Regions from separate parts of the Homo sapiens genome. Here all the other regions are linked to region 1. Evidence: promoter capture Hi-C in 16 types of primary human blood cells and fetal thymus (Javierre and others, 2016). All regions are on one chromosome and are shown on one strand. Each heading gives the region's core, a stretch centred on a gene start or on the middle of the fragment in contact. The rest is flanking DNA. Distances are from core to core; before and after follow the strand shown. Region 1 holds the start of TATDN1 (TatD DNase domain containing 1). Region 2 holds the start of TRIB1 (tribbles pseudokinase 1). Region 3 overlaps NSMCE2 (NSE2 SUMO ligase component of SMC5/6 complex). Region 4 overlaps WASHC5 (WASH complex subunit 5). Region 5 overlaps WASHC5 (WASH complex subunit 5).

Evidence for each region. Contacts are between HindIII fragments. The CHiCAGO score rates a contact against its expected background, and 5 or more counts as called.
Region 2: the fragment with the promoter of TRIB1 here is called in contact with the fragment with the promoter of TATDN1 in region 1 in 1 of 17 cell types (fetal thymus); the score reaches 5.3 in fetal thymus.
Region 3: a fragment that was not itself captured here is called in contact with the fragment with the promoter of TATDN1 in region 1 in 1 of 17 cell types (fetal thymus); the score reaches 5.2 in fetal thymus.
Region 4: a fragment that was not itself captured here is called in contact with the fragment with the promoter of TATDN1 in region 1 in 7 of 17 cell types (megakaryocytes, total B cells, naive B cells and 4 more); the score reaches 8.0 in megakaryocytes.
Region 5: a contact is called between a fragment that was not itself captured here and the fragment with the promoter of TATDN1 in region 1, in 14 of 17 cell types (erythroblasts, megakaryocytes, naive CD8 T cells and 11 more). The highest score is 11.6, in erythroblasts.

The regions. Positions count from the first base shown.
Region 1 is chr8:124,536,830-124,541,100 of GRCh38, forward strand. TATDN1 (TatD DNase domain containing 1) reads right to left here and starts at 2,256. Exons shown (of 12, transcript NM_032026.4): 1 at 2,196-2,256. The coding sequence starts at 2,217. NDUFB9 (NADH:ubiquinone oxidoreductase subunit B9) reads left to right here and starts at 2,294. Exons shown (of 4, transcript NM_005005.3): 1 at 2,294-2,458. The coding sequence starts at 2,358. RefSeq lists an enhancer at 2,117-2,186. The HindIII fragment of the contact is 3,000 bases long and covers 1-2,887 here.
Region 2 is chr8:125,428,550-125,432,820 of GRCh38, forward strand. It overlaps TRIB1 (tribbles pseudokinase 1), which reads left to right and starts at 1,809. Exons shown (of 3, transcript NM_025195.4): 1 at 1,809-2,713. The coding sequence starts at 2,354. RefSeq lists silencers at 982-1,601, 2,332-2,671 and enhancers at 1,962-2,011, 3,482-3,571. The HindIII fragment of the contact is 12,242 bases long and covers 1-4,271 here.
Region 3 is chr8:125,118,063-125,122,333 of GRCh38, forward strand. The region is part of intron 3 of NSMCE2 (NSE2 SUMO ligase component of SMC5/6 complex); the gene reads left to right. Among named protein-coding and RNA genes, the nearest start is that of NSMCE2, 28 kb to the left of the region's middle. The HindIII fragment of the contact is 1,431 bases long and covers 1,418-2,848 here.
Region 4 is chr8:125,071,867-125,076,137 of GRCh38, forward strand. WASHC5 (WASH complex subunit 5) reads right to left here. Exons shown (of 29, transcript NM_014846.4): 8 at 3,132-3,245; 9 at 1,287-1,458. Among named protein-coding and RNA genes, the nearest start is that of WASHC5, 18 kb to the right of the region's middle. The HindIII fragment of the contact is 793 bases long and covers 1,352-2,144 here.
Region 5 is chr8:125,050,470-125,054,740 of GRCh38, forward strand. WASHC5 (WASH complex subunit 5) reads right to left here. Exons shown (of 29, transcript NM_014846.4): 18 at 95-196. Among named protein-coding and RNA genes, the nearest start is that of WASHC5-AS1, 12 kb to the left of the region's middle. The HindIII fragment of the contact is 989 bases long and covers 757-1,745 here.

The DNA.
Region 1 (4,271 bases), core at 1,006-3,505:
TGAAAGATTAAATATCAGAGTAAGTCATATACCAAGGATAGAATGCATAATATGATCTCATTTCTGTTTCAAAAGGAAAAAAAAAAACCTTGATATGTTGTATTTTTATGAATCTGTATAACAATCTATTAAAAAATTAGGGAAGGCTATACTTCAAACTTTTAATATGGTTACTTTAGGAGAGTGGGGCTAAAGGAAACCATACAGAAAAAAATTTATTTCAATTATTTATTCCAATAAAGTCACCTTCTTTAAGAAGTCTTTTCTTGCTTATTTTATCTGATGCTAATCCCTTTACTAATTTTCTTATCACCTTAGCACTAAAGCCACTCATTCATACTTTCCCAAACAGTCATTGTACTACGCCCCTAGGAAAAAAATATAAATACCATACCAGTATCTGCCTTAAGAGTTTGATCTAGTGGGAAAGGCATACTCATATTTAATTATAAATAATGTGGTATAAGTTTTAAGGAGTGAGTAGGCAGACAGGCAACAGGGTAGTTGGTAGGCAGAGGAATATTTTGGCCCCAAACTGCCACTCTAAAACCTTGTCAGAGGTAACAAACAGCATGCACAAGTGTTTATAGAGCAGCCCAGGGATGGGCTAGAAAAGTGGGCAGGACTGGACCACAGAAGGGCTTTGTATGGTGTGTAAGCATTTAGGCTATCCTGAGGAGCGTAAATGAAAGATTTGAAGCAAAAGAAACATTTAGCTGATTTGATTTTTAGATACACCAAAATGGAGTCTACATGGAGGATGGATTTAAGACATTAACTTGAGGCAGGAATTTGGTTGTATAACATAAACACACTTTTAAAAAGTTATGTGGCCTTTCTTTACGGAGTACTTCATGGCTCTTTATTCCATCTCCCTCATCAATTATATCAAAGGTTAGGATGGAAAGGCTAAGACACGGCAATGTCTTATTTGACAACCCCTCCCCAAACCCCTACTCCAGGCTTTCCCACAGCAATTTCAAAACCTTTTTCCTGGCACTTAACATATTCTCCCCTGCATTTGCTTTTGACTGTACAGTACATAGGTCTTAGGTCTCCAGTCTGAAAACTGCACCACTAGATTTTACAGTTCCACAGGACTTAGCACAACGTCTTTGAAAAAAAAAAATACTGCTTAAATAACTCTCAGATCTAAATGTATAATCCTAATCTCTTGATTGCCAGACCACATTCCCAATTGCCCAGATATCTCTACCTGGATGTCCTATAATTATCTCAAACTTAACCTAATCCAAATGGACCTGGGTACCTCTCTTCACCGCCAAACTAGTCATGCTTCCATTTCATATTTAAGTACTTTTCCAAACCCTGAGTCATCTTTGTTCACTCTCTACTACCGGCCATGAACACTCAGCTGCTAAATGCTGCACACATCTCTTCCATTTCTCTCTCTTTTCCATTACCCTAGTTTAAGCTCTTGAAATGCTTCCCTACCTCTCCCTATTTCCCACAAAACCTACATAATAGCTATCAGGATTACCTTGCTAAAGCAGAGGTGTGATCACTGTCATTTCCCACCTTCAGGTAGCTGGAAACCCCACAAAACGAGGATCATGCCCATTTAAATCCCGCAGCATTCTCCCTCTCGTTCTACTGATGCCGACTGGATCATTGTACTTGCCAAGTACAGTTTGTTTTTCTCCCCATTACTTGTGTTTTCTAGTTTCTCCACCAGATGGTGATGACAGTACAACTGGGAGCTTTGTGCCCTGTGTTCCTAGGCCAGTGCCAGGCCCACTTGAGGCGCTCACTAACTATGATATGAACGAATGAATGCTTGAGTGAATTGGTCCCCAGAAGCGGTCAGCCTCTCCGCCAAGGCAGAGGGGAAGGGCCGGGAGGTGCACGTGGGATGAATGGAAACATAGTGATTGGCCTTTTTGGAGTTTTCTTCTTAAAAAACTGAATACATTACAGATGTTGAAAACAGCACAAAAATCATAACTGTACGGCTTGTTAATTTTTACAAATAAATACACCCTCGTGAATCCAGAACCTAGATCAAGAACCAGAGCATTACCAGCACCCAGAAACCTCCCCGCGCCCTCCTCCACTGAGCGGCCCTTTCAACCCTTACAATGCCGGAGGGCGCAATTCCTGGGTCCTGTGACCTTGGTGACCGACGCCCGGGACAAGTCAGAAAGACCCAAGGGCGTGGAAAACGCTCCTCTTACCGATAAACTTGAAGCGACTCATGACTGCGCATGGAGGACCTCCCCAGCGGAAGCGGAAGTGGCCGCCGGCAACTCCGCCCTTCCGGCTGGCCCCGCTCAGTCACCCGCAGCAGGCGTGCAGTTTCCCGGCTCTCCGCGCGGCCGGGGAAGGTCAGCGCCGTAATGGCGTTCTTGGCGTCGGGACCCTACCTGACCCATCAGCAAAAGGTGTTGCGGCTTTATAAGCGGGCGCTACGCCACCTCGAGTCGTGGTGCGTCCAGAGGTAAGGGATGGGGACCCAGGACTCGGGGAGGTGACCCTCGGGGCCCCATGGAGGTGGAGAGGCCCCTGGGTACCTGGAGGTTCAAGGACTTCGGGAACGGAATTGGAAGGTGGCCTCTCGCTTCACAGAATCCTATGGTAGACCCGGGTTCAAATCCAGGCTTCGCCACTTATGGCCGGGAGACCTTGTAGAGTTGCTTGTCGGGTCTGGGCGTCAGCTTTTTGTTTAGTAAAACGGACGCACGACCAGCGCAGAGGGTCGCAGGAAAATTAAGTGAAATAAAGGAAAGTGCCTAAAATTGTAATTGTCATGGGTCCAGCGCTCGCTCAATCGTTTTCTTCACGATCTTCTCCTTTCCAATATTAACAGCAATAAACTATGCATTATTTTCTTCAGTCTGCAAAACTCTAGGAGTTAGGAATTATCTTAAGCTTATTTTACAGATAAGAAGATGAGCACAGCTGGTAACTTGCGCAAGGTGATAGAGTTTCTAAGTGTCTGAGCCAGGGTTAAAATTTAGGTCTTTCTCCAAAGCATCATCATTCTCCCACCCCTCCCATTAGCTTTTCTCTTTTTAGCTTCATCTAGTCCTTTTCATTACCTTTACATCTTTTTCACCTCTTACATAATTCTCTTTCGACCTCTATCCGTCTGAGACTAGTCTGAGAACATAGTGTTAAAATGTGTAGATTTTAATCACCTAAATTCATTGCAGGGTGGGCTAACAACCCAAGATGTGTGAGTGCCTCGCCTCCACTCCAGTCTTACGACTCTCCAAACGTAGTTTTATAAGAAGGCCTTCTGGGAAAAAAACTCTATGGAAAATGGAGTAGGCCTGGAAGAATTACAGAGGGTACCCTCGAAGCCCAGATTGCATATATGTGACTATTAGAAAATCACTGACATACTTCTCTTGATTTGGCAGGAAGATGGCCAAGTACAATGTGATGGGATTGTTAGTTTCTTCCTTGAGTTTTCCTTATTTATTTATTGATTTGACAGAATTTGCAATTCAGATTCTATGCTCTATGCTAAATATATAAATGTTAGTAAATCCATTTTTGAGCAGCAGCAGCTCACGGATTAGTGGGGAAAATGGACATGTAAACAAATCGATGATGAAGGAAGTTGAGCCATCAGGGATTCAGGTATCCCAACACAAATGGTAAATGTTTGAGGTGATGAATATCCAAATTACCCTGATTTGATCATTATACATTATATGGATGTATTAAAATATCACATGTACCCCATAAATAGGTACAATAATTATGTGTCAAAAAAAGTTAAACATGAAAAAAAGAATTCAAGCAATACTGAACTATAGCTGGGAATACTAAAGTCCATAGTTCTAGAGGAAAATGATATAAACTAGCTACTATGACAGTTATGGCTCAGCATTTTTTAGATCTGACATTCTTTCTCAATCCTTGCCTTAATTTCTTCCTCCATTTGCCCTCATTGTGCTGTTCTCTGTGGTTCCATCCTAGGCATACTGTGTTGTTGTATGTACTCGGGCAGCCTCATTTAGTGCTGTCACCACCTGCGCTCATTTGTCTCTAGAGCTGTAGTTCGAATTGCTTGTTAGATCACGACTGTTGGCTGGGCATGATGGCTCACGCCTATAATCCCAGTACTTTGGGAGGCTGAGGTGAGTGGATCACCTGAGGCCAGGAGTTCAACAGCCTGGCCTACATGTGAAACCGCGTCTCTACTAAAAATACAAAAATTAGCCAGGCGTGGTGGTGGGTGCCTGTAATCCCAGCTACTCATGAGGCTGAGGCAGAAGAACCGCTTGAACCTGGGAGGCAGA
Region 2 (4,271 bases), core at 559-3,058, 890 kb after region 1:
TAGAGACGGGGTTTCACCATGTTGGCCAGATTGGTCTTGAACTCCTGACCTCAGGTGATCTGCCCACCTCAGCCTCCCAAAGTGCTGGGATTACAGGCGTGAGCCACCACGCTTGGCCTAACTTCATCCTTCTAAGGCTTCAGTTTCTTCCCTGTGAAATGGGGCAAAAAATAACCCCATAGTGTGGTTGGAAAACTGAAGTAATACATATAAAGTGCTAAGAACAGTGTCCGACACATTGTAGGCCTCGATTCATGTTAGCTATTATTATTATTTTAATTTTCACCTTCTAATTCCCAGCGTTTAGCTCTTGGTAGATGCTTAATTAGTATTTGTTGAATGAATGGAGAATTAATAAGGAAAATGATTTATTCCTGGGGCTCGACCTGGTTTTAGAAAATTAAGTATTTAGCAGAAGGACAAGTAAGGGCTCTCTAATAATAGTTATATTGTTGGGTGCCCAGGGACTCCAAACTGACCTGGTTCACTCAAGAAAGAAAAATGACAGATTCCAAGTTGTTTCACGCGCAACTTTGATGCTCTTCCAAATCACACGGAATGAATGCATGCGCACCACCAGGCAGGGCTGCCCGGGTGCAGGCGGTATCTCTGGCAGTGGCCAGAATGACTTCCACCAGCCTACCCACCTACCCAGGTTGGCACTCAGGCCCTAGACCCTGCGGCGCGTGTGGAGGCTGGGGAGGGAGTAGGAATCCGGCGGCAGCCACGTGGGCCCCTTCCGCCCGCTCCCCACATCCTTTGTTTCCCACCGGCCCTGGCTCAGGAAGCTCTTTCTGCGAGTCACCGCGAAGGGGCGGCCCGGGAGCCTGGAGAAGCTATTTCCGTGCAATCCGGGCGGGCGGCAGGCGCGGGGGGGTTGGGGGGGCGTGGAGGTGGAGGCAGCGCAGAAGGCCCAGTGTTTGCTTTTATTTCCTCCAACAGAAGGTTCTATTTGTGGAAGCGAACAGACGCTGGGGATTAGAGCTGGGAGGGGGCAGGAAAAGGGAAAAAAAAAAGCCACATCCACTACCACGCACAGGTCTTCCCCGGAACTACCGCGTGGGGGTGAATGACTGATTCTGGAATTCATCACCTCCCTATCCCCCTCCTTCCTCCGGCTGCAGCCGGGCCTCGGCGGCGCCCACGGCTCCAACCGGAGCTCCCCAGGCGCTGGGCGGTGGGGGGATCCCCGGGGCGAAAGGCGTCGCCGCGGGGCTGCAGCGAGCGGCGGGTGCAGAGAACCGTGGTGCGCGCTCCCGCCTCGCGCCCGCAGCCCATTGTGCTTACTGTGAATGAGGCGCGCGCACCAATCAGCGGTCGCTTCGCTCCCCGCAGCCCCGTCCCTCCCGCCCACTTCCCCGGGCCCTTACGTCACGGGAACTTTTCCTCCGCCCCCTCCTTCGGCTTCTCCGCTGAGCTGGGGGCCTGCGGGAGGGCGCGCGCGCCGCCTCCTGCCCAGCCCCTCCCAGCCCTGGGGGCGTGTGCGCGCGTCCAGGCCGGCCCGGGACGCACCACCTGCGCCCGAGCGCGCGCTGCCCGGAGCATCCCCAGCCCTAAGTCCACCCCCATTCCCCCCACCTCCTACTCCCTCTCCCCTTCCCCCAGTCTCCTCCCTCCGCTCCGGAGACTGCTCGCTGGGCGGCGGGGCCGGAGTCGTCGCAGCCACCTCATTGCACAACCCGGCTTCCCAACTGTTTACACAGCCCGGCCTGTGAGTGTGTGTGTATACAGCGTGAGTCACCAGGAGGCGGAGGAGGTGGAGGAAAAGGAGAAGGAGGAGTGCACTGGCCGGGATCGGTGCAGCGCTCACACTCACTCACAGTCACTCTCTCTGAGCGCGTCTCGCTCGCTCTCATACACGCCCGGAGCCCAGGAGCGCTCAGGATCCCGAGCGCCGCGAAAAAGTTCCCCCGGCTTTTGCTGGAGACTCATCGCTTTGGGAAGTGCATTTGCTTCGTGGCTCCGCCGAGCCTGCTGAATCCTGTCCTCGCGGCTCGGGACCCCGGGATCGCTGACCGCTGCCGCCGCCGCCTCTGCCTCCCGGACTATCGGCAGCCTCGGCAACAATAGTGGCGGCCGCCCCCAGCGAGGCTCCGGGAGCCCTTGCCTGCGGGGGTCCGGGGACTCGAGCCGGCCTCCGCCTCCCGGACGCACAGCCAGCGTGGTCCCCGCGTGCAACGCGAGCGCCGGGGAGTGGCTCCTGCTTTGCCCCTCGTGGGGGCCGAGCCAAGACCAGTCTGCAAACTCCATCCCGCCGGCTGGAAGAAGTCGCGGAGCCGGCACCAAACCCGCAGCGTCTTCCCGCGCGGATCCCGGGACTTAAAAAGCCGGGGCCACCCCGGCCCAGGACGGGATGCGGGTCGGTCCGGTGCGCTCTGCCATGAGCGGCGCCTCGCAGCCCCGCGGCCCGGCCCTGCTCTTCCCAGCCACCCGAGGCGTCCCGGCCAAACGCCTGCTGGACGCCGACGACGCGGCGGCTGTGGCGGCCAAGTGCCCGCGCCTCTCCGAGTGCTCCAGCCCCCCGGACTACCTCAGCCCCCCCGGCTCGCCCTGCAGCCCGCAGCCCCCGCCTGCCGCTCCGGGGGCCGGCGGAGGCTCCGGGAGCGCGCCGGGGCCCAGCCGCATCGCCGACTACCTGCTGCTGCCCCTAGCCGAGCGCGAGCATGTGTCCCGGGCGCTGTGCATCCACACTGGACGCGAGCTGCGCTGCAAGGTAGGCGCTCCCGGGCCAGGACCCGGCTGGGGTCGGGGGCGCGGGACGGGGTGGTAGGCAAAGGTGCTTGGGGTCCGGCCAACGCTTGGGCTGGGCACAGGGCGGATCAGTAGATTGGGTCAGATAAGACGCCATTTGACCAGGTTCACGTTTTTGTGGATCGAGGGGTTTCCCATGGAGTGATATAATGGGGGCGCCTAGAGGAAGTGCAGTGTTCAGTGGCTTTCTCTATCTGTTCCTTTCCTCAGCGCCCAGTGTAGCGCGTGGCGTTCCATATAAGTTGTGGAATTGAAATGGATTCCAGGGCCATGCCATTCCCCTTCTCTCATTCTCCTCGCTCTCCACCCCCCCTCCCCCGCCAATGTCCTGGAAGGACGCCCTTTAGTGGGTGCCTCCTAGGAGCTTGGAGCAGCTGGCAGCTCTCTTGCCGGGCTTGCACGGCACCCGGGCTCAGTTGTAGGTGGTAAGGGGGCTGGAAGACTGTGTCCGGCTCCTGCCTTGGGGATTCCGAATTGAATCCGCGCTGAGACTAGAACACGCCCTCCCAAGGGAGCAGTCCCAGAGTCATCCACCCGAGGCGGAGGAATCTGCTCGGAGTAGAAATGTTGAAAAGCCCACACCGGCCAGGAACCCTCGCTTCGATTCACTTTATTTTCCAGCCAGCGATTTTCCTTTGAACATAGGGATCCCATCCAGGAGGAGGAGACACAGCTCCTAGAAACAGGATCCGCCGGGTCCTCCTCCTGCGCGGGTAGACGCAGAACGTTCCCACAGTCTACTTTATGCGAGCGTGGCACCCCTGCTTGAGGCACCCCAGAGCACCCTCGGGCCGCTCCTTTTCACCCGAAAGATAGGATCACCCCCCAGTTAAGTCGCTTCTGGGTTTTCCGCAACTCACCTGACACTCCCAACACCCCGACCCCGTCCCGGGGCTCGCTGCTGCCACCTACTGCCCAACCCGAATGAAATTTCAGACGCATGATCAAGCCCAGTTTAATAGGGAGGAAAAAAAAACCTTTTCTTCTCCATGACTGGGGCTAAGAGCTGTTCTGGGACAAGCATGTATGTGTGTGTGGTGGGATGGGATGGGATGGGGTGGGAGGAGGGGGCAGCAGGGGATTTTTCTAGCTGGTGCCAGAGCAGCCAGGCCTCTTAGAGGTGGGGTGAGTCTGGCCATTGTGCAACCCCTTCCAGTTCCTCTGAGCAGATAATAGCTGAATCCAGATGGTGACAGCCCGTGTGTCACCGTTTCCAGTTGAGTCTAGGATATGAGTAACTGGACTGAACAAAAGGCCTTTAAAGAGACCAGCCAGCTTCCTAGAAGAGAGGAGATGCTACTCATTTCTAGGGGTGGGGTCGGGTGTGGGGGGATAAACAAACAAGTGGAAAACCCATTCGCAGGATTCCATACCCTTCCTGTGAGAATTGTAACTCAAGGCTGCTTACACTTGAGTCGGACTGTAGGCAGGTTGCTTAAGGCTGCATTGTCCCAGCCTCCCCCTCCAAGTCATCTGTTCCTTCTGATTAATGACAGCTCTGCATGTTCTCTGGCCCCTGC
Region 3 (4,271 bases), core at 883-3,382, 580 kb after region 1:
TGGGCCAGGCATGGAGAAGGGTCACAACTGTAATCTTAGCACTTTAGGAGGCCGAGGCGGGCGGATCACCTGAGGTCACGTGACCTCAGCCTGGCCAACATACCCAAACCCCATCTCTACTAAAAATACAAAAATTAGCTGGGCATGGTGGCACACGCCTCTAGTCCCAGCTACTCGGGAGGCTAAGGTGGGAGGATCACTTGAACCCGGGAGGCTAAGGTGGGAGGATCACTTGAACCTGCCAGGAGGCAGAGGTTGCAGTGAGCCGAGATTACACCACCGCACTCCAGCCTGGGTGACAGAGTGAGACTGTCTTAAAAACAAACAAACAAACACACACACACAGAGATTGCTGGACCTTGCCACTAGAGTTTCAGTAGGTCTCGAATGAGTCTAAGAATGTGCATTTCTGAGAAGTTCCCAGGGTCTGCGGGTACACTTTGAGAACCCTTCTCTAGTCAGTATTTCCCATTTGGTAGGAAATACCACTAGGTGGCACCAGAACACTTCTTATGAAGTAGCTATTGGCTTTTTGAACAGTGCTTATTGCACAGTTTAGGATTATATAAAAGATACAATCACTAAATTATTGGAATTTGGAGCCTGAATTATCTCATGTATATAAAAAGTAAAAATGTGTTGATTCTATTAGACCAGAGAACTATACGACTATTAAGGTTAAATTTTTAGATCAACTCTTCCAGGAATGAGGACTATACCTCTCACCTTTGCTGCTCTCCTTTTCAGTTGTGTGGGTTAATCAGTTTCATTTACCAGTGATTGATGCAGATCCTTTCACAAAATAAAAATAAACATTTCATATGAATCATAAGTATTTATTCTTCCAGGTTAATGGATCTTGATTTTGTTATCGATTACATTTTAAAACCACTTTTAAAAGACTTATACATATTGTGCGCATAAATTTCTTGTAATTTTGTCCTTCCTCCAGTGGCCCAGTTGTATTTGGGGCAGTTTTAGAATGTCAAAAAGGGTGAAATGTGCTTTCCTATTGGCTTCCTTACTCAGAAAGTTGAGTAGTTTCCTTTTTAAGAGCTATTGAGAGGAAAGTTTTGGCTGCTGTTCACCTCATCTCACCTCCTGTTACCGTGGAATCTCACTCCATAAATTTCCAATCATTCCAACACCTCCAGATTTTCTTTCCTCCACCGACTGTAACAACCTGAAAGTTGGCATGGTTTCTCCACATGATGGCGTGTGTGGAAATAATTACTTGCTGTGTTCCCCTGTTTGCTAAGCTCTCCCATTCACATTAGGATGTCACTTTGTGAAACAGTAAATGAGTCACTTTTTAGTTTTTAAAACAGCGTGTATAGTATCTGAATACCATCTGGGTTTTTCTAGAATCCTGAGAATAATTTTTCTATTAATTCTGCTTTTTTGTCTTTGGAGCTGAAGCTTGGTTTAGGTTTCAGTGGCCTAACAGGGTTTGAAAATGACCATCACAGAAAAAATGGAATTGGAGTCACTCAATCAGATTAAAATTAGACTAGCACTTTATTATATCTCTTTGATCATTGGAAATAATTGAGACTAGTTTAATGCTAAGCAAAGATGACAGCTTATGGAAGAAGTAGATAGAACAGACTTTAGGATTATTTTTGAGACATCAGATTCCTTTTTAAAAGACATAAAATTTTACGTCTTCTAGTAAGCAGAAAGGAGCTTTTTGTAGATTGGCAATTAACATAGCTAAACCAACTTGATTATTCTAGAGAAGATTATTTTATTATCCAGACCTATTTTTTCTCCCTCTTCTTTCTGTACTTTATAAATGAAATTATTTGTTATATATAAATGTAAAGCATTATTTATATATGTAAAGCATTATTATTTATATATGTAAAGCATTATTTATATAAAGTGTTAGCCACATGTGTAATTTAAAATTTTCTGCTGTCCTTATTACAAAAAGTAAGAAGAAAGAGGAAAGATTACTTTTAGAAATGTTTTATTTAAACAAATATGTCTAAAATATTTTAACATATAATCAATATGAAAGTTACTAATATTATTTTGACTTTTTTGATACTAAAATTAGAATCTTACAGTACATGTCAACCTGGACTAGCCATATTTCATATATTTAGTAGCCACATGTGAAAAGTGGGTACTGTATTAGATAACAGCACAGATATAGGTTATTTCATTTGTCAGTGACTGTGTCAGAGAAGGGCAAGAAAGCATAAGGATATTTAAATCAATCATCATGTAACATTTTAGAAGTTTTGGAGAGTACTCAAATCAAACCAGTCGGTAAAACGAGTTATTATCTGTTGATTTCTTTTGTATTTGTCACTTTTCTACCCTAGGTGTGATTGGTATTTTAATACATAAAATGCCAATTTTAAAAATAGTTTAGTCAGCCTAAAATGACTTACTTCTGAGGATCCTGCTAGTATTTGCTTCTGTTTGAAATGTCATGATAATTTGAATCCACATCTACAGTACTTTCATATTTTGTGGCTGATGTGGTAAACTAGTTTCTTACGATATTGGGCAAGCCAGAGGTTAAGCCTGTTAACTTCAGCAGCCAGAATACTGTACTCTAGTTGCTATAAACAATTAGGCCTGTCAGCAATTGACCTTGGAAATGCTAATTTGCTTGTCCCTGGGTGCTGCCTCAGGCACTGGCTTTCTCTCTGTGGGTGGGAGTTATGAACCTAGTTTGGAGGAGAACTTGAGGCATTTGGGGCAAGCTCCAAACAGATGTGCTTCTTGCTTCATTTTTGCATGTGACCAAGTCGCAAGAGGCGCATTCCTTGCATGAATTTCTTTGAAGGCCTTGTAGAATCAGACATGTATGCCTTGACTAAAGTTGAGAGGAAGCTTTATTACTTTTGAATTTACCCTTCCCTCTTCATTCTACTGCACATCTGCCATAACGAAGGTTGATTGAAAAATGCTACACAGTGATTTTCATCACTATTTCATTGTATTTCTTAAACTTACTGAAAAAGAACTTGGAAGGCATCTTTTATTAACTCTTTTGGTTTTGTGTTTATTACTACTATTATAGTAGAGCCAGGAGAAAGTGGCCTGAATAAGTGAGGAGAAAGAAATGTTAGTTGGAAAAGCTATATATACATGGTGAGAAGTTATAGGTAGCGTGCTCAGTAGATGAAGAAGGGAAAGAGAATATTTATAAAATTCAGAGTTACTGTCTTTTTAAACTGGTGGTGACAGCAGTGGCAGATTTTACTCCAAGACAAAGATTTGCGCTTCCTCTTCTTTTGGGCAGGTAATTTTGGACAAGGTAATTTTGTCCCTTTATTGTACAATACTGATTCAAACATTTATTTGAGGTTGGTTGATTGCCACTGTTGTTAGGTAATTGTTAGCATTTTATGTTGATCAGTCACCAATTATTATTGGCTCATGCCCTCAAAAGGCTAATAATTTTGTTAGCAGATAAGGCAAATAGGTATCCATGCAAAGATCAGGAGAACTACATGGTAGTAAGTAATGTGTGCCAAATGAGGAGACCATGAATCTGTATGTCTCAATCAAGAATCTGTGAATGTATTTTTACATTTTATGACCTAGCAGCCTGATTCTGTATCCCATAGGCATACATCTTTTGTAGACTCTAATTTAATAGGCAACTTAATAATAGCCAACTTGTGATGCTTTTTGTGTACCTGGCATGTTATAAATGCCTTATGTGTATTCATTCATTTAATCCTTACAGAAATACTGTCAGGTAGGTAGGTATCATTACCATTATACATATGAGTAAACTGAACCTTGAGGTTGACCAAGGACTATATACTGTATCTCTGAAGGAGTGGTTTTTGTTTTTTAACCACAATAATGGATTTCAGATTGGAAATATACATTTTAATTATTTACTCCTTACATATTCTCACCCATCATCCTTTGTAACCCTAACCCCTTCCCAATTGCAGTAAGCTCTGAGATAAGTTCTTACCTACGCATTATTGACCTAGGCCTGTGCTCAGTGTAGATAGCTCTTTTGCAGAGCTCTGACACCGTTATGCCTGAAGATGAGTTCTTCATTAAAACCATTTATAGAGTCCATTCTATGCCAACTCTGATGATTGACTTAGAAGGTTCTCTGGCTGAGCCAAAAAAAAAAAAAAAAAAAAAAATGCTGCCTATTATATGAAATGTACTATGCTAGAAATACAAAGATATGAAGATACTTCAACAAATCTCTAGATCCTTACTAGGATTGTAAGTCTTGATTACCGTGAATTGACTTCTTGGATCATCTTTGTTTGATTGTT
Region 4 (4,271 bases), core at 498-2,997, 530 kb after region 1:
CCTTCTGGACATTCTAGGGGAAAAGTCTGTTTTCTTGTTTTCAGCAGCTAAAGGCTGCCTGTATTCCTTGGCTTGTGGCCCCCTCCATCTTTAAAGCCAGCAATGGCCAGTCAGGTTTTTGTCACAATGCTATCTCTCTGGTTCTGACACTTCTACCTCCCTCTTCCTGATTTAAGGACCCCTATATTTACAGGCTGGGCATGGTGGCTCAGACCTATAATCCTAGCACTTTGGGAGGCCGAGGTGGGCAGACTGCTTGGGCTCAGGAGTTTGAGACCACCCTGGCCAACACAGTGAAACACTGTCTCTACAAAAAAATACAAAAAACTTAGCCAGGCATGATGGCACACACCTGTAGTCCCAGCTGCTTGCGGGGATTGCGGAAGTTGTATCGCTTGAGCCCAGGAGGTCTGAGTGAGCTGAGATTGTGCCACTGCACTCAAACCTGGGGAACTTGAGATCCTGTCTTAAAAAAAAAAAAAAAGTGGGGGGGGGGGGCGGGCTCTTATTTTATTATTCTTTTTTGAGACGTGGTCTTGCTCTGTCACTTAGGCTGCAGTGCAGTAGCATGATCTTGGCTCACTGCAGCTGCAACCTCCCAGGCTCAAGTGATCTTCCCACCTCAGCCTCCCCAGTAGCTGGGACTACAGGTGTGTGCCACCATGCCCAGCTAATTTTTTTACTTTTTGTAGAGATGGGATCTCACTGTGTTACCCAGGCTGGTTCTGAACTCCTGGGCTCAAGCTCTCCTCCTGCCTTGGCCTCCCAAAGTGATGGGATTACAAGTATGAGCCACCACACACAGCAAGGACCCTTATGATTACACTGAGTCCACTGGGATAATCCAGAAACATCTCCTTAAAGGTCAGCTAATAGGCAACCTCAATCCCCCTTTTTCATGTAATATATCTACCGGTTCAGGGACTAGGGCATGAACATCTCTGGGTGTGGGCTGGAAGGCACTATTCTGCCTACCACAGATCTGCAGTTCTATTTTTTCATATGTCTACATTTGATCTCCCCATTCTGATCAGTGACAAGCTCCTTGAACATGAGAGATAAACATCCTCTTATTCCCTAGCACCTAACAGTACCTGACAGGGGAGAGCTTTTCAGGTATGCTAGTGGCCTATCCAAGTTGACAAAAAATGACTAACTTTAAAAAGCAACTTGATTCTCATCCAAGGCCTCTCTCCCTGCTAAACCACTCTGCATCGTGAAGTAGGTCCTGATTCTGAGAGTCTTTATGTGGAGTAATATAAACGGCCACCCCTTTTGTGCATTACCTGAGTCTGCTGTATGAAGCATCAGCCATCGGATGGCAACATTGCAGTCTCTCAGGCAGTTCAGAAGCTTTGGGATATTGTCCAGAACCATCTCCTCCCTTAAATAACCTTCTTTTAGAAATTGCTGCACTTGAGCATGCACTCTTTCACTGACAGTAGCATATCTGCTTGCCTTGACAAATAAGAAACTTGAATTACATTTAAAAAGTCATTTATCTTGAAAATAAATCACATTCAAATGAATTCACTGACAAATAGTAACATTTCTATATAGGATGAATGACATATGGATTACAGTTATAGGGCTCGAAGATAACATTTCTATAAGATGAATGACATATGGACTACAGTTATAGGGCTCAAACTTTAACATTTTTATATAATTTCTGTACAAGATGAATGACATATGGACTACAGTTATAGGGCTCAAACATTAACATTTTTATGTAATTTCTATATAAGATGAATGACATATGGACTATAGTTCTAGGGCTCAAAGATAACATTTCTATATAAGATGAATAACATATGGACTATACTTATTGGGCTCAAAGACAACTGGCTTATTGAACATATTTGAAAAAAGCACTGGACTTAGAATTCTGAGACTACATCCTAGTTCTGGCTGTGATTAAACTTTGGTGTGACTTGGGGCTTAACCCCTGTGTATTGGTTTCTTCAAATTTCAAACGGAGACTTGGACCAGGTGGTTCCTCAGAACTCTTCTATTATTAACTTAGATGAAAAAGAAAATAAAGACAGAAGTTCAATTGCTTGTTCTTGCTAATACTGTTGACAAAGAAGGCAGAACAGAGCAGAAACACTTAAAATATAAGACTTCTTCTACAGGCTTATGAAAGCTTAGCAAAAAATACACCTTAGTATATCAAAAATGAATTTCCAAACCAGCTTTTTGGAAAATTTGGTCATTCTGCTTTACTTAAAGGAAGTCAAATGTTAAACATCATTAACCTCATCAAGTTAGTTGAAATCTGTGGTATCAAGAAACCTCTTAAAAATGTCACAAATGAGAAAATGCAATTTTAGAAAGGGATTTTAGCAATGAAAAATTAATGATCTGATGTTGCTAAGTATAAAAGTGCCACTTTCTCTAATATATTTCTAGGAGATGTGCCAACATTGAAATTATTTTGTGCATTATTTATGGAATTCAATTTACTTGAATAAAACATGATGAAGTTTTTTGAGTCAATATTGTTTTATCCACACAGGAAACTCAGTAACTGAGCCAGGATGAGGAACATAACCATTTAGAAATATCAAGTATGCTCCCCAAGATTTTATCTTTATTCCTCTACTTACTTGGATGTTCCCTTCTGCCTTGTGTAAGAACAAAAGAGATAGAATATAACCGTTTAACCTTTAAGATGAATGTCTTGAGTCTTGTTGCTTATTTAGCACAACACAAATGATAAATTTAAATTACAGTGACAGGACATATTATCCATATTCAGTTATCATCTTCATCATTCATCCTACTTATAAAAACATATTAATTCCAGCTATTGGTACAACCAACTCTGGCCATGAGAATATAGTCTTTAAGCAAAAGTAAACTAAGTCATTTGGGGCATATGCCATGCTTCTTTGTCTTAGGGTACTGACTCTTCCTTGGGATCCTAATCTTCAATTTACATATACTATATAACAAAACCTACAATTACCTATCTTATTCTAACCTATAAAATTCACCTTTTATTAATCATTGCATTAAATTATCTAAGTGATTATCTTCCAAATTCCTTGGGAAATCTACTTAGCTTATTTGCTACTTCATAAACTAGGCCTGCAGTTATCAGAGAATGTCCCCAGATTAGAACCTACCTGTTCTCTGACATTTGAAAGGTCCAGGGTATTATTTAAAGCAGTTTTTGCAGCTTTGTAAGGTTCCCAAGCATCTACTAGATTAACTGTGATCCCCATGTAAATACTAATTACCTGAAAGAGGAGACATTCAGAATTTGTTAAATTCCTACTCACTTCAAGGCAAAGGGTTGAATACTAAAGTTATAGAAGGCAATACCCACTCCATGTTTAAATTCCATTCCAATGAAAAACCAAGATTTTCCAAATATATAGGTAAGTGTTCCTGATTGTTAAGTAAGTGTTCCTGATTGTTAATTCACGTTAATAGGTATAAAGATCTCTTTACACCTATTAACGTTGCTTTTTGAAATTCTCTATTGTGTAATATTAATGTTTTCTCACCAGTTGTTTTATTGGTTGGCAATTGCCTGGGATATCTTTTTTTAAAATCCCTTCATTTTCACTGTGCTAGGGTATTTTTTCAGGTGTGTATCTTACAGGTTTCATGTAATTGGATTTTGGTCTTTCTTAATAATAAATATGTCTTTAATTATAGTATCATGGTCAAAACTTCTTTATTAAACTTAGGAACCTGAAGCCACACTATCAGTGTTTTCCTCTTGGCTGCTCAACTCTGAGCTCACTAATATGATTCACAGTTGGCCAGGAACCACCACTTCCTAATGTAGGCTGTTCTCATACTACCAATAAATTGAAGGCCCCTCATAACGATAGTTTATGTGATTCAACAGCCGATATAGAAGCAGAACAAAATCTGCTACATGCGAATATAATCCAACTCCCTGCATTTTGTTAAAGCCTCTTTGTTTTCATATATTTCATTTCATATATATTATGAAGCAAGCTTTATTCCTATAAGAATATTTTTAAATGAAACAATGCTTACAAAGGTACAAGCATATCCTTGCAATAATATAAACTTTAGTAACCCCATTACAGTTAGCTTATAGGTAAAACTTTATTATTAAAGTGAAATTCCTATTCACAAAGTGACAAATTAGATGAATTTGGCTATCTTAGATTCAGAAAATGGAAAAGAATAAATAAATTCTTACACAACTTAGTTGTAATCTCAGTAGCTAAAGCAAGAGACATTTTAATAAATGATTTAATCTTGAGAGTATCCATTTTAGAAAA
Region 5 (4,271 bases), core at 1-2,500, 510 kb after region 1:
TAAGGTCTTGTTCGCGATAGGTTAAAAATGGCATTCTAGTCCATGCTGCAAGCTGGGCGGAGAAGAGGACAGGCCCACTCTGGTCACTGGGTACCTTGGCTCGAGGGTTGAATATCAGTCCCCTATGCAGGGCAAAGGCAACGCGCTTCACAAGCTCTTTCCTTATTCCATCTTCCAGCAACTGCTTTGGATCCACCTAAGTGCCAATCAAAAGTATTAAATGATAGTTACGAAAAATTCAGTCCTAACGAAATCCAGAGGAAAGATGGCTTTCAGAATCTGCAGTGGGGCATTTTCCTACCTCCTCACTAAATGATTTGAATTTTTTCCTTTCCTGTCCCTGTGATCTTGCACAGCTTGGATGGAATTATTAAACCTGTCACCTTTTTAGGACTCTGTTTATTTCAGCAAAGTTCATGATGGTAATTTTACAACAAGACATTTCAAAGACGGTGAATAAGGAAAGTTTTAAATGGCCTCACATTCTAATTAATGGCCCCTCTTTTTGGAGTTTTAAATGGCCTCACATTCTCATTAATGGCCCCTCTTTTTGGAGGGGCAGGATGAAGGACCTATGACTGAATTTACAGATGCATGTTCTTCCTTTAGATTTTATTTCTAGGCACCTTATATCCACATGAGCAAACTCAGATTTGAGGTCGGGCCACTCTGTAAATTGAATAATTATCTTTTCTTTCAGCATTCTTGGAATTAGGGAGATAAAATAAGAAAGCAAATCTGCTATCTAACTCTACAAGCTTACTTTGCTAATTATTTCTCCTATAATGAAAAGGTTTTGTTATTCCTTTAAAAAGTCTCTTATCAGATCCATAAAACATCAAATGATTTTTACATACTCCCTTGAATTCTCTGAGACTTGTTTCTTTTACTTTTAATTTGTAAAGAACCATTATTTTAAAAGGTCATAAAGGCAATTAATGGGTTCCATCCAGTTTTGATTGTATTTAAATTTCAAATAAGACAACTGCAAGGGGGTTACAAAAACACAAAAGCCAGAGAAACACATTAAACTACGTCAAGATCGTTCAATCAGGGAAATCCAGACTGTGGAGCAACTGAAGGTGAAAGGCCCTATGTTCTTCAACAGATGAATTAAAGGGAAAGAAAGGAAGGAGGGCCGGGCGTGGTGACTCACGCCTGTAATCCCAGCTCTTTGGAAAGCTGAGGCAGGCGGATCACCCAAGGTCAGGAGTTCCAGACCAACCTGACCAACATGGAGAAACCCCGTCTCTACTAAAAATACAAAATTAGTCGGGCGTGGTGGCACATGCCTGTTGTCCCAGTTACTCAGGAGGCTGAGGCAGGAGAACTGCTTGAACTCGGGAGGAGGAGGTTGCGGTGAGCCTGCACCATTGTACTCCAGCCTGGGCAACAAGAGTGAAACTCTGTCTCAAAAAAAAAGACTTAAAAGACATAACATAGTTTTTCAAATGGGCAAATCTAAGCTATAGTCTGGAAATTAATGACATATAGTTTCACTGGATAATAAAACTATACACAGGAGGCCTGAGATGAGGTCAGGGTGCATGAGGGGGCTTTCAGGAGTGGGGCTCACTAAATCCTATTTCTTAAGTGGTAGTCAGAATGACTTGTGTTTACCTTGTAATAACCTAATAGGCTACATCATTCTTTCTTTAGTTTTCAGCATCTGTGCTTTATTATACAATAAAAAGGTAAATTATAAAGATATAGTCAATGAGTACAGAATCAAAGAAGTATCATGAAGCTTTCAAAGAAATATTCCTTACAAGAACAGATTTACTAAAAGAGTTCAATGCTTTCGTGAATCTAAAGATCGCATGCGGCTCTTCTAATCCTTCCCGCATTCTCACTAATCTGTGGAAGTGTTCACAGCTAAGAGAAAGCCATCTTCACACACCCCTTCCTCACATTTCTATTCCCTTCCCCTGAAGTTAACAACAGTAACTGTTTTCATATGGATCATCCAGACCTTTCTCCATTCGTTTATATACATAAATATCCATCCTTACACATATATTTAATTTCAAAAATCTAAATGGGATCATATACATGTATATGTACAGAGACACGCAAGTATATCACACACATATATTATACATATATACACATAGTTGCATGCATGTATATCACACACACTACACACACACACACACACACACACACACACATACATACATGTTTTTCTGCAATTTGCTTTTTTCATTTTCCACCTTGGAGATTTTCCAGTACTAAATTCTTTTTGAATCGCTCTAGACCAATCCACAGTACGAATGCACCATGGAATATTTAACCATTCCCCTACTGATGATGGATGTTTAGATTACAGATGCTCCTTGACTTAAGATGGGGTTACATTCCAATAAAATCGTCGTAAGTTGAAAATATCAGAAGTCAAAAATACACTGAATATACCTAATCTACCAAACATCATAGTTTAGCTTACCCTACTTCAAATGTGCTCAGAACACTTACATTAGCCTACAGTTGGGCAATATCATCCAACACAAAGCCTATTTTATAATAAAGTATTGAATATCTCATGTAATTTATTGAATACTATACTGAAAGTGAAAAACAGTATGGGTATCATATGAAGTTGAATCATTTTAAGTTTGAGACGACCTGTATTTCTTTTTTTTTTTTTTTGCTGCCTCTAACAATGAATGCTTATATCTCTGTGTATATCTCACTTGTTTTAAGTCAATATCAACCAAACTGAACCTACACTTTTTATAAGTGTTTGAAACACAACCTCAACACTCTGAGGTTAAAGATCAGCGAGGGCCACAGGATTACTTTTAAAAGCCCTTAGTTGTTATTGGTAGACTAGCAGAGAGAGTCTACTGGGTTGAATGTAGTTGGTCAGCAGAGTATTCCTTCTGCTGTTATAATCTGAAACACTGTGGGAAAAGATCAGTATTTTACCAAGCAGTCTTGGTAAAATTCTTTTGATAATTATTGTTAATTACCTGTAAGAGGTTTTATTACATCCTTCTTACAGTGGTCACTTTGCAGTCCTAGGATTTATCATCCTGTGTGTAAGAAGTGACTAAAATGCATGTACATTCTCTACACATCAATTGAATTCACCTGGGATCAGGCCTAAAGCATGTTTAGCAAATTCTATTAATATTCTAGGAAATACCATGGTATTTCCTTTAGCATACTTCCAGAAAACACATACCAAAGTTCCATTTAGGTACATTTCCTCTATTTTCTTTGATTTTAATAATGCAAATATTAATATGGCAATTAGGAATGTTGAGATTCTACTGATGTCAGATATATAGAAAAATAAAGAAAAGCACCATAAACTATATGAATGGGCCCATCGCTACTCACCATAACATTCCAAATTAAAAAAGCAATGAGATACTTTATACCTCTTGGGAGAACAAAATTAGAAAGTGGATAATATCAAGTATTGGTGAAGATATAAGCCGTTAAGTCCCAATGGCCTTCTGATATTTCCAACTTGTGATGAGTTTATTGGGATGTAACACCACTGTAAGTCAAGGAACATTTGTATCTCAACATCCATCAGTGGTGGAATAGTAAATACACCACGGTGCATTCGTACTATGGATTGGTCTGCGGCCACTTGAAAAGAATGTAGATTTCAGAGGAACTCTTGCACAGGTCTGGAGTGGGGATATGCTCAGAGACGTTCATCATGACATTGGTTGTGATAATGGGGGGCACAGGTGTCTGTCCCAAGCTGGATGGTTAAGAAAAATGTGGAATTCTATGCAGCAGTAAAAAGTAACCTACTATCTGACCTATAGCAATATAAATAAATTGCAAAAGCAATAACCAGTAAGAGAAGCTGGAAAAAGAATGAGACTTAGAGCACAATATGGTTGAGATAAATCAAAAGCACATGCACACATCAAATAATGCCATATGCTAAAAATAAGAATACTTGCATATGTAGGAACAATTACCAAATCCACAAAGTTGGTGCTATGGGTAATGGAAATGGAAGCAGGGATCCAGGAGAAGAAAAAAATAAACAAACAAAAGATGACAGGAGCTTGCATGCCCCAGTGATGATAGTGGTCTGTTAAAAGACGGATATGGGCCGGGCGTGGTGGCTCATGCCTGTAATCCCAGCACTTTGGGAGGCCGAGGCGGGCGGGTCACGAGGTCAGGAGATCAAGACCACGGTGAAACCCTGTCTCTAAAAAATACAAGAAATTAGCCGGGCATGGTGGTGGGCGCCTGTAGTCCCAGCTACTCGGGAGGCTGAGGCAGGAGAATGGTGTGAA